Linked DNA regions of Homo sapiens: region 2 is linked to region 1. Evidence: promoter capture Hi-C in 16 types of primary human blood cells and fetal thymus (Javierre and others, 2016). All regions are on one chromosome and are shown on one strand. The core of a region is centred on a gene start or on the middle of the fragment in contact, and the rest is flanking DNA. Distances in the headings are between cores, read along the strand shown. Region 1 holds the start of LMTK2 (lemur tyrosine kinase 2). Region 2 overlaps PNPLA8 (patatin like domain 8, phospholipase A2).

What was found. The method cuts DNA at HindIII sites, captures the fragments that hold promoters and counts their contacts. A CHiCAGO score of 5 or more calls a contact.
Region 2: a fragment that was not itself captured here is called in contact with the fragment with the promoter of LMTK2 in region 1 in 1 of 17 cell types (neutrophils); the score reaches 5.5 in neutrophils.

The regions. Positions count from the first base shown.
Region 1 is chr7:98,105,234-98,108,372 of GRCh38, forward strand. LMTK2 (lemur tyrosine kinase 2) reads left to right here and starts at 1,629. Exons shown (of 14, transcript NM_014916.4): 1 at 1,629-2,047. The coding sequence starts at 1,945. The HindIII fragment of the contact is 4,003 bases long and covers 761-3,139 here.
Region 2 is chr7:108,517,723-108,521,085 of GRCh38, forward strand. The region is part of intron 2 of PNPLA8 (patatin like domain 8, phospholipase A2); the gene reads right to left. Among named protein-coding and RNA genes, the nearest start is that of PNPLA8, 6.7 kb to the right of the region's middle. The HindIII fragment of the contact is 9,624 bases long and covers 1-3,363 here.

The DNA of each region.
Region 1 (3,139 bases), core at 379-2,878:
GAACCCAGGAGGCAGAGGTTGCAGTGAGCTGAGATCGCACCACTGCATTCTAGCCTGGTGACAGAGACAGACTCTGTCTCAAAGAAAAAAAAAAAAGAAGTAGAAGTACAACAGGGTGATTGTGTCTCTTTCCTAGACCTTTGCCTTCCTTACCAATTCTGCATATAATCAGCAGAAAGCCGTGAACTTTTTTTTTTTTAAGACAGAGTCTCGCTGTGTCGCCCAGGCTGGAGTGCAGCGGTGTGATCTCAGCTCACCGCAACCTCCGCCTCCTGGGTTCGAGCAATTTTCCTGCCTCAGCCTCCCAAGCAGCTGGGATTACAGGCATGCGTCACCGTGTCTGGCTAATACTTTTTGTATTTTTAGTAGAGATGGGGTATGACCATGTTGGCCAGGCTGGTCTTGAACTCCTGGTCTGAAGTGATTCACCCACCTTGGCCTCCCAAAGTGCTGAGATTACAGGTGTGAGCCACCGTGCCCAGCCAAGCCATGGACTTTTAAATTCAATGTTTCTCGTTCCAGGTATTTGTCTCCTTAGATATTTATTGGCTTGCCTCAATCATCCAACAAATATTCCCTGGGCATCATCTGTGTGTCCAGTGCTGTGTTAACATCATCGACAGCTGGCATTTAGGATGGACATTTGGGGAGTTTGGAGAATTGGGGAGGTTACACTGTTGCCAGGTGGCAAAGTCTCATCTGATAAGATTGAAATCAGCTCCTCTCATGCACACACTGAACCATAGCGCCTCTCCAGAAAAGCTTAGCATTTTCCCAACCCCCATGCCTCTGACCACTATATTACTTGTGTCTGGAGAGTGCTTTCTCTATCCTCTCTGCAGGACTGTGTTCTCACCTCACCTCTTGGTGGGGAGAAGGCCACCCCTGGGAGCTGCTCTGCCCTGGTACCTGGGACCAGGGCCATGCACCATTGCTTTAGAGAACACCTGCTCCGACCCAGGTCCTGCACCAGGGATTTCCCACCAGCTGAATCAGACACAGTTGCTGTCCTCAGGGAGCTTACAGTCACGGGTCAATAGGATACTGCAGCTAGGATAGCAGTCCACACAGGGCCAGGGCGGGGCACTAAGGAGATGACAGTCATTTCTCCTAGAGAGTCATAGATGAAGTCATATGTCAGGTGAGTCTCGACAGATGAAAGGAAGAGTGTCTGCCAGGTGGACAAGAGGCAACAGCTTGAGCTCAGGAGGTGAGTCAGTGGGTGATGCCGAGAGAGGCATTCTCTTGATCAATTCAAGTGAAAAGCCCAAAGCTGTTTGATGGCTGAGAGGATGTGTAGGTCAACTTAAGGAGAAGAGCCTAAAACAGCTCTGACAAGTAAAAAAAAAAAAAAGGCAGAAGACAAGACAGGCCTATTTTTGCATGTTATAAAACACCGAGAAAAAAATATCAGGATGATTGTCATGGTCTTCTTTACATTTTCCTGTATTTTTCAATTTAAAATAATTGTTGGTGTTACCTGCTGCCCACGCACTCCTCCGTCTGCAGGGGGCGCACCGGCCGCCACCGCTCACTCCTTCAGGATGATGGGCGGGGCCTCCTGGGCCGGTGTGGACTGACGAGTGGCTGGCCGCCCTGTCCATCACGACATCCCGCCCCCGCGCTACGTCACATGACGCAGCCCATCATGGCGGCGGGAGCGCGGCTTCCCAGGCCCGCCGCTCCGCAGGGCTGCTGGCGTTGCTGCTGTTGAGAGGCGGCGGCGGCGGCGCAGGCGGGCGGGAAGGATGGTGTTTCTGCGACTGGAGCGGCAGGTGCGGACCGGGAGCCGGACCGAGGTTTGGCAGAAGCAACGTGTGCTCGGGAGCAACCGGCGCGGGTGCCACTGAGGCAGCGGAGGGAGGCAGGATCGACTGACGGGCGAACGGACGGACGGACGGAAGGCGACTCGAGGGCCGGCCCCGGAGCCGCGCCGTGGGCGAGATGCCGGGGCCGCCGGCGTTGCGGCGGAGGCTGCTGCTGCTGCTGCTGGTCCTCCTGATCGCCGGCAGTGCTGGGGCCGCGCCACTTCCGCAAACAGGTGCAGGTGAGCGGGCCCGCGGCGGGGACGGGGCTGCGGGGTCTTCGGCGTGGAGGGGAGGGGGCGGCAGGGCCGGGCCGGCCTCGGCGCCGAGGAATCGGAGGGCCTGCCGGGGGCGGGAAGCCCAGGGAGGCGAGTGATTAGGGAGATTTCTGCCGCAGGGGCGTGGGATTTGGGGGGGCGGGAGCGAGGCGACGTCGTTGGGGCTGGGGAGGGCGGCGGGCGAGGTAGCAGCCACCGACCCCTCCCGGGATAGGCTGCGGTGCCGGCCCTGGACCTGTTGCCTTAAGATCCTCAGCTTATATCGCTTCCTGGCAGTTCAGCTTCCCTTTCCAGATGTCACCTGCCTCTTGTGCTTTTTTTTCGCATCTCATAAGAACCGTTTCTTAGCCCTAATCATACTTAAATGCAAATGACTTGGCGAGCTGTGCGGAGTTTGTTTTCGCTCCTTGCAACTTATTCTGAAGTTGTAAATTGATTTTAGACGCTGTGCTTTTTATTCGGAATGTATCTCCGGGGATGAGAAGGAAACAACTATAAATATTTCTATTTTAGGAAGCCAGTGATTAGAGTAGCAGGCGTTGAATAACTATTGACAAACTGGCTTAAGGGTGATGGAAGTTTCTATTTTAGCTAACGTCAGTGTATGATTTTCTTTTCTCCCCCCCCGCCCATTTTCTCAACATCGTTTTTATTTGGGGTTTATTTTCCTAAATAAAACTTCAACCCAAGAAAACATCCCAAGTTGGGTCATTTTTCTAAAAAGGAAAAAAAAATCTAGGCTAACTTGGCGTTATTGACTGCCGCCATTACCTTTGAAATGGGGAAAGATTGAAATTTCATACATTCATAGAATGTTAGAGTTAGAAGAGACCTTAAAGAAAATTTAGACCAATTTCTTCTTTACGTAGTAGGAGATACTGGGCATGTTGGGTCAAATGACCTACCCAGGGTGACACAGCTTCGTTGTAGGCAGAGCCCCAAAGCCAGGTCTTAGATACCCCTAGTTGTATGATTTTTTTTAAGTCTTGTAACTGTTTTGGAATACTCTCGAGGTCAAGAGTTATTTTGGAATAATGTTAATTGGGTACAGAATGT
Region 2 (3,363 bases), core at 432-2,931, about 10 Mb after region 1:
ATCCCATAAACTGGGGAGCTTACATATATATGTAATATGGGGTGTCTGTGTGTGTGTGTTTTATAGAGACAGGGTCTCACTCTGTCACCCAGGCTGGAGTGCAGTGGCATGATCATAGCTCACTCACTACCACCTCGAACTCCTGGGCTCGTGCAATCCACCTGCCTCAGCCTCCCAAGTAGCTGGGACTACAGGTACACATGCCTGGCTTAGGTAGCTTATAAACAGTAGAAATTTATTTCACACAAAATTTCTCACAGTTCTGGAGACTGGGAAGTCCAAGATCAGTATTAACAGATTTGGTATCTGCTGAAGGCCCACTTACTGGTTCACAGATGGCTGTCTTCTTACCGTGTCCTCACATGGTAGAAGGTACTAACTAGCTCTATGGGTTGTCTTTTAGAAGGGCACTAATCTCATTCCTAAGGGCTACACCCTCCTGACCTAATCACCTCCCAAAGACCTACCTCTTAATACCATCACTTTAGCGGTTATGATTTCCACATGAATTTTGAGAGGCACAAACATTCGGACCATAGCAGTATGATTCCAGCTGTATAACACTCTAGAAAGGCAAAACTATGAAGACAGTAAAAAGATCAGCTGTTGCCAAAAGCAGTGTGTAGAAGGAATAAATAGGTAGGGGACAGAGGACAGTATTTTTACTGCCCTAAAAATCCTCTGTATAGTATCATAATGATGGATAAATATAATTATACATTTGTTCAGACCCACAGAATGTACACTACCAGGAATGAACCCAAATGTACACTATGAACTTGGGGGACTGCGTGTGAATGCAGGCTCATCAATTATAATAACTGTACCACTCTGGTGGGTGATGCCGATAATGGAGGTGGCTATGCGTGTGTCAGGGTAGGGGGTATATGGAAACGTCTGTACCTTCCTCTCAATTTTCCTGTGAACCTAAAAACTATTCTTAAAAAAGTCTTTAAAAAAAAGCAATCTGCAGTTCTATATAAGCTATATGCACATGAATATATATATATATATATATATATATATATATATATATACACACACACACACACATATATTAAGAAATTAAAAAATGAAAATCTACATATGCAGTTGAAATCTTATGGACACACATATACATACACATATTGATTCTGAAAGGATAAGCACCTGTTTGTTTATTCTTATGAACTAAGGCATGGGACCAAAAGGGAATGAGAACGGTTTTTACTTTTTACTTTTCTAGTGTCTGAATTATTTATAATGAGGTTTTATTTTGTAATTAGAAAAAGCAAAATATTTAAAGGACTGTAACAGAAGGTACCATGTGAATGAAAGACAAAGTGAGATAAAATCGAGGGAAGTTTAAAAAAAAAAAAAAGAGGTTAAAAACTGGCCAAATTTAAAAGAGAATTCATCACGTGTAAAGATGAGAAGGAAAGGAGAGAATTCTAAATAACGGTAAACAAAACAAACACAGCCAAGAGTTTGAGACCAGCCCAGATAAATGGTGAAACCTTGTCTCTTAAAAAAAAATAAATAAAACAAATTAGCTGGGCATGGTGGCACATGCCTGTAGTCCTAGCTACTCAGGAGGCTGAGGTGGGAGGATTACTTGAGCCTAGGAATCTGAGGCTGCAGTGAGCCACAGAGACCCCATCTCTAAAACAAACAACAAAACTACACACACAGAGGCAAACAGAAGAAAGCATGTAAGAAAGCACAGATAGTATGTGCAGAGATTACATGTAGTCTAGTTTTACTGCAGGACCTAGAGAGATTGAGAGAGAGGTAGATGATGCCAAGAAAGATGGAACTGAGAACCTATTCCAATTGTCCAGAAGATAACAGCCTGAAGTAAAATCCTTCCTTCTAAATTGCATGTGCCATTTAGAATTATCTAAAGGAAGAGAGAGAAAAAAAGCAAAGCCTGCCTTGTCTTCCAGGCTGAAGGAGCCCAGGGAATTCTACCACAAAATATGGCTCCCTGGTATAAGTATTTTGAATTAAAGCCCCATCAGAGATCAACAGATGCTAGAAGAGACTTTTTCCCTATCTACAAAAAGACCAGACAGATTCCCCAAGGGGAACAATTGTTTTCCCTTCTCCTCCTCAGGGAGAAGGGAAAACAATTTTATTATTTGCTGCAGAAAAGAAGACTGAAGAATGTAACCACACCCAAAGGACACTTTCACAAGATAAAGTCTGTCTCTTAGGCTCATTCAGTTTTCAAAGAGAATACAAGTTCGTCTCTGTCCTTCCAACTCTCCGTCCATTCCTTCTCCCTAGTAATCAGTTATTGCCGCTCGAGAGAATTACCTCCATTCACCATCTTTCCTTCCCCTCTGAAAATAGCTATATAAGTATGTGGGCCCCACTGGGATATTTAAGTAATCATTGTGATTCTCACCTGTGCACATTAATAAATTTGTATGCCATTTCTCTTACTAATCTGTTTCTGTCAGCTGATTTTCAGCAAACCGGCAGAGGTGGAAGGGGAAATTTTCCCTCGATCCCTACAAGGCTCTTCTGAACTCCTTGGGACTTACAGTCAATAAGATAAGCCAAGTTAACATAAAAGCTCTGCAGCCCCAATGACACAAAAACACTTAATATAAAATACTTGTGGATAAAAAGCCATGCTCTGTTTTCACTTATATGTAGGAGCTAAAAAAAATTGGATCTCATGGAGATAGAGAGTAGAACGATAGATACCAGAGGCTAGGAACAGTGTGTGAGGGAGAGTTGGGGGCTGGAAAGGAGGGGATAAGAGAGGTTGGTTAATGGGTACGAACATACAGTTAGAAGTAATGAGTTATAGTATTTGAATAGTACAGTAGGGGGACTATAGTTAACAATGACATATTGTGTTATTTCAAAATAGCTAGAAGATTTGAAATATTCCCAAGAAAAAATAAATGTTCAAGGTGATGCATATTCTAAATACCGATTTGATCATTACACATTGTATGCATGTATCAAAATATCACATCTACCCTATAAATATATACAAATATTATATATCATTTAAAAAAAAATTCATGCTCAACTTGAAGAATACTGAGACTGTAAAATGAAACCAGAAAAATAACTGTGTGAGGTAATGCATATGTTAGATTTAGTTAGTCCACAATGAAAATAATACTTAAAAACATCATGTTGCACACCATAAATACATACACCTTTATCTGGCAATTTAAAAAATAAAAAATAATTTTATAAAATAATAAAGCCATGCTCAAAGTCAACAGTAAAAAATCTCCAGGTTTAAGAGGACCCACAGGCCTGGAACAGCAGTCATACTATCCTCAAGGTGCAGATACCCTATGGGCAATGGGATCCTACACCAAGCAACCACTATGGAAAATGAACTCACTGAAGTTA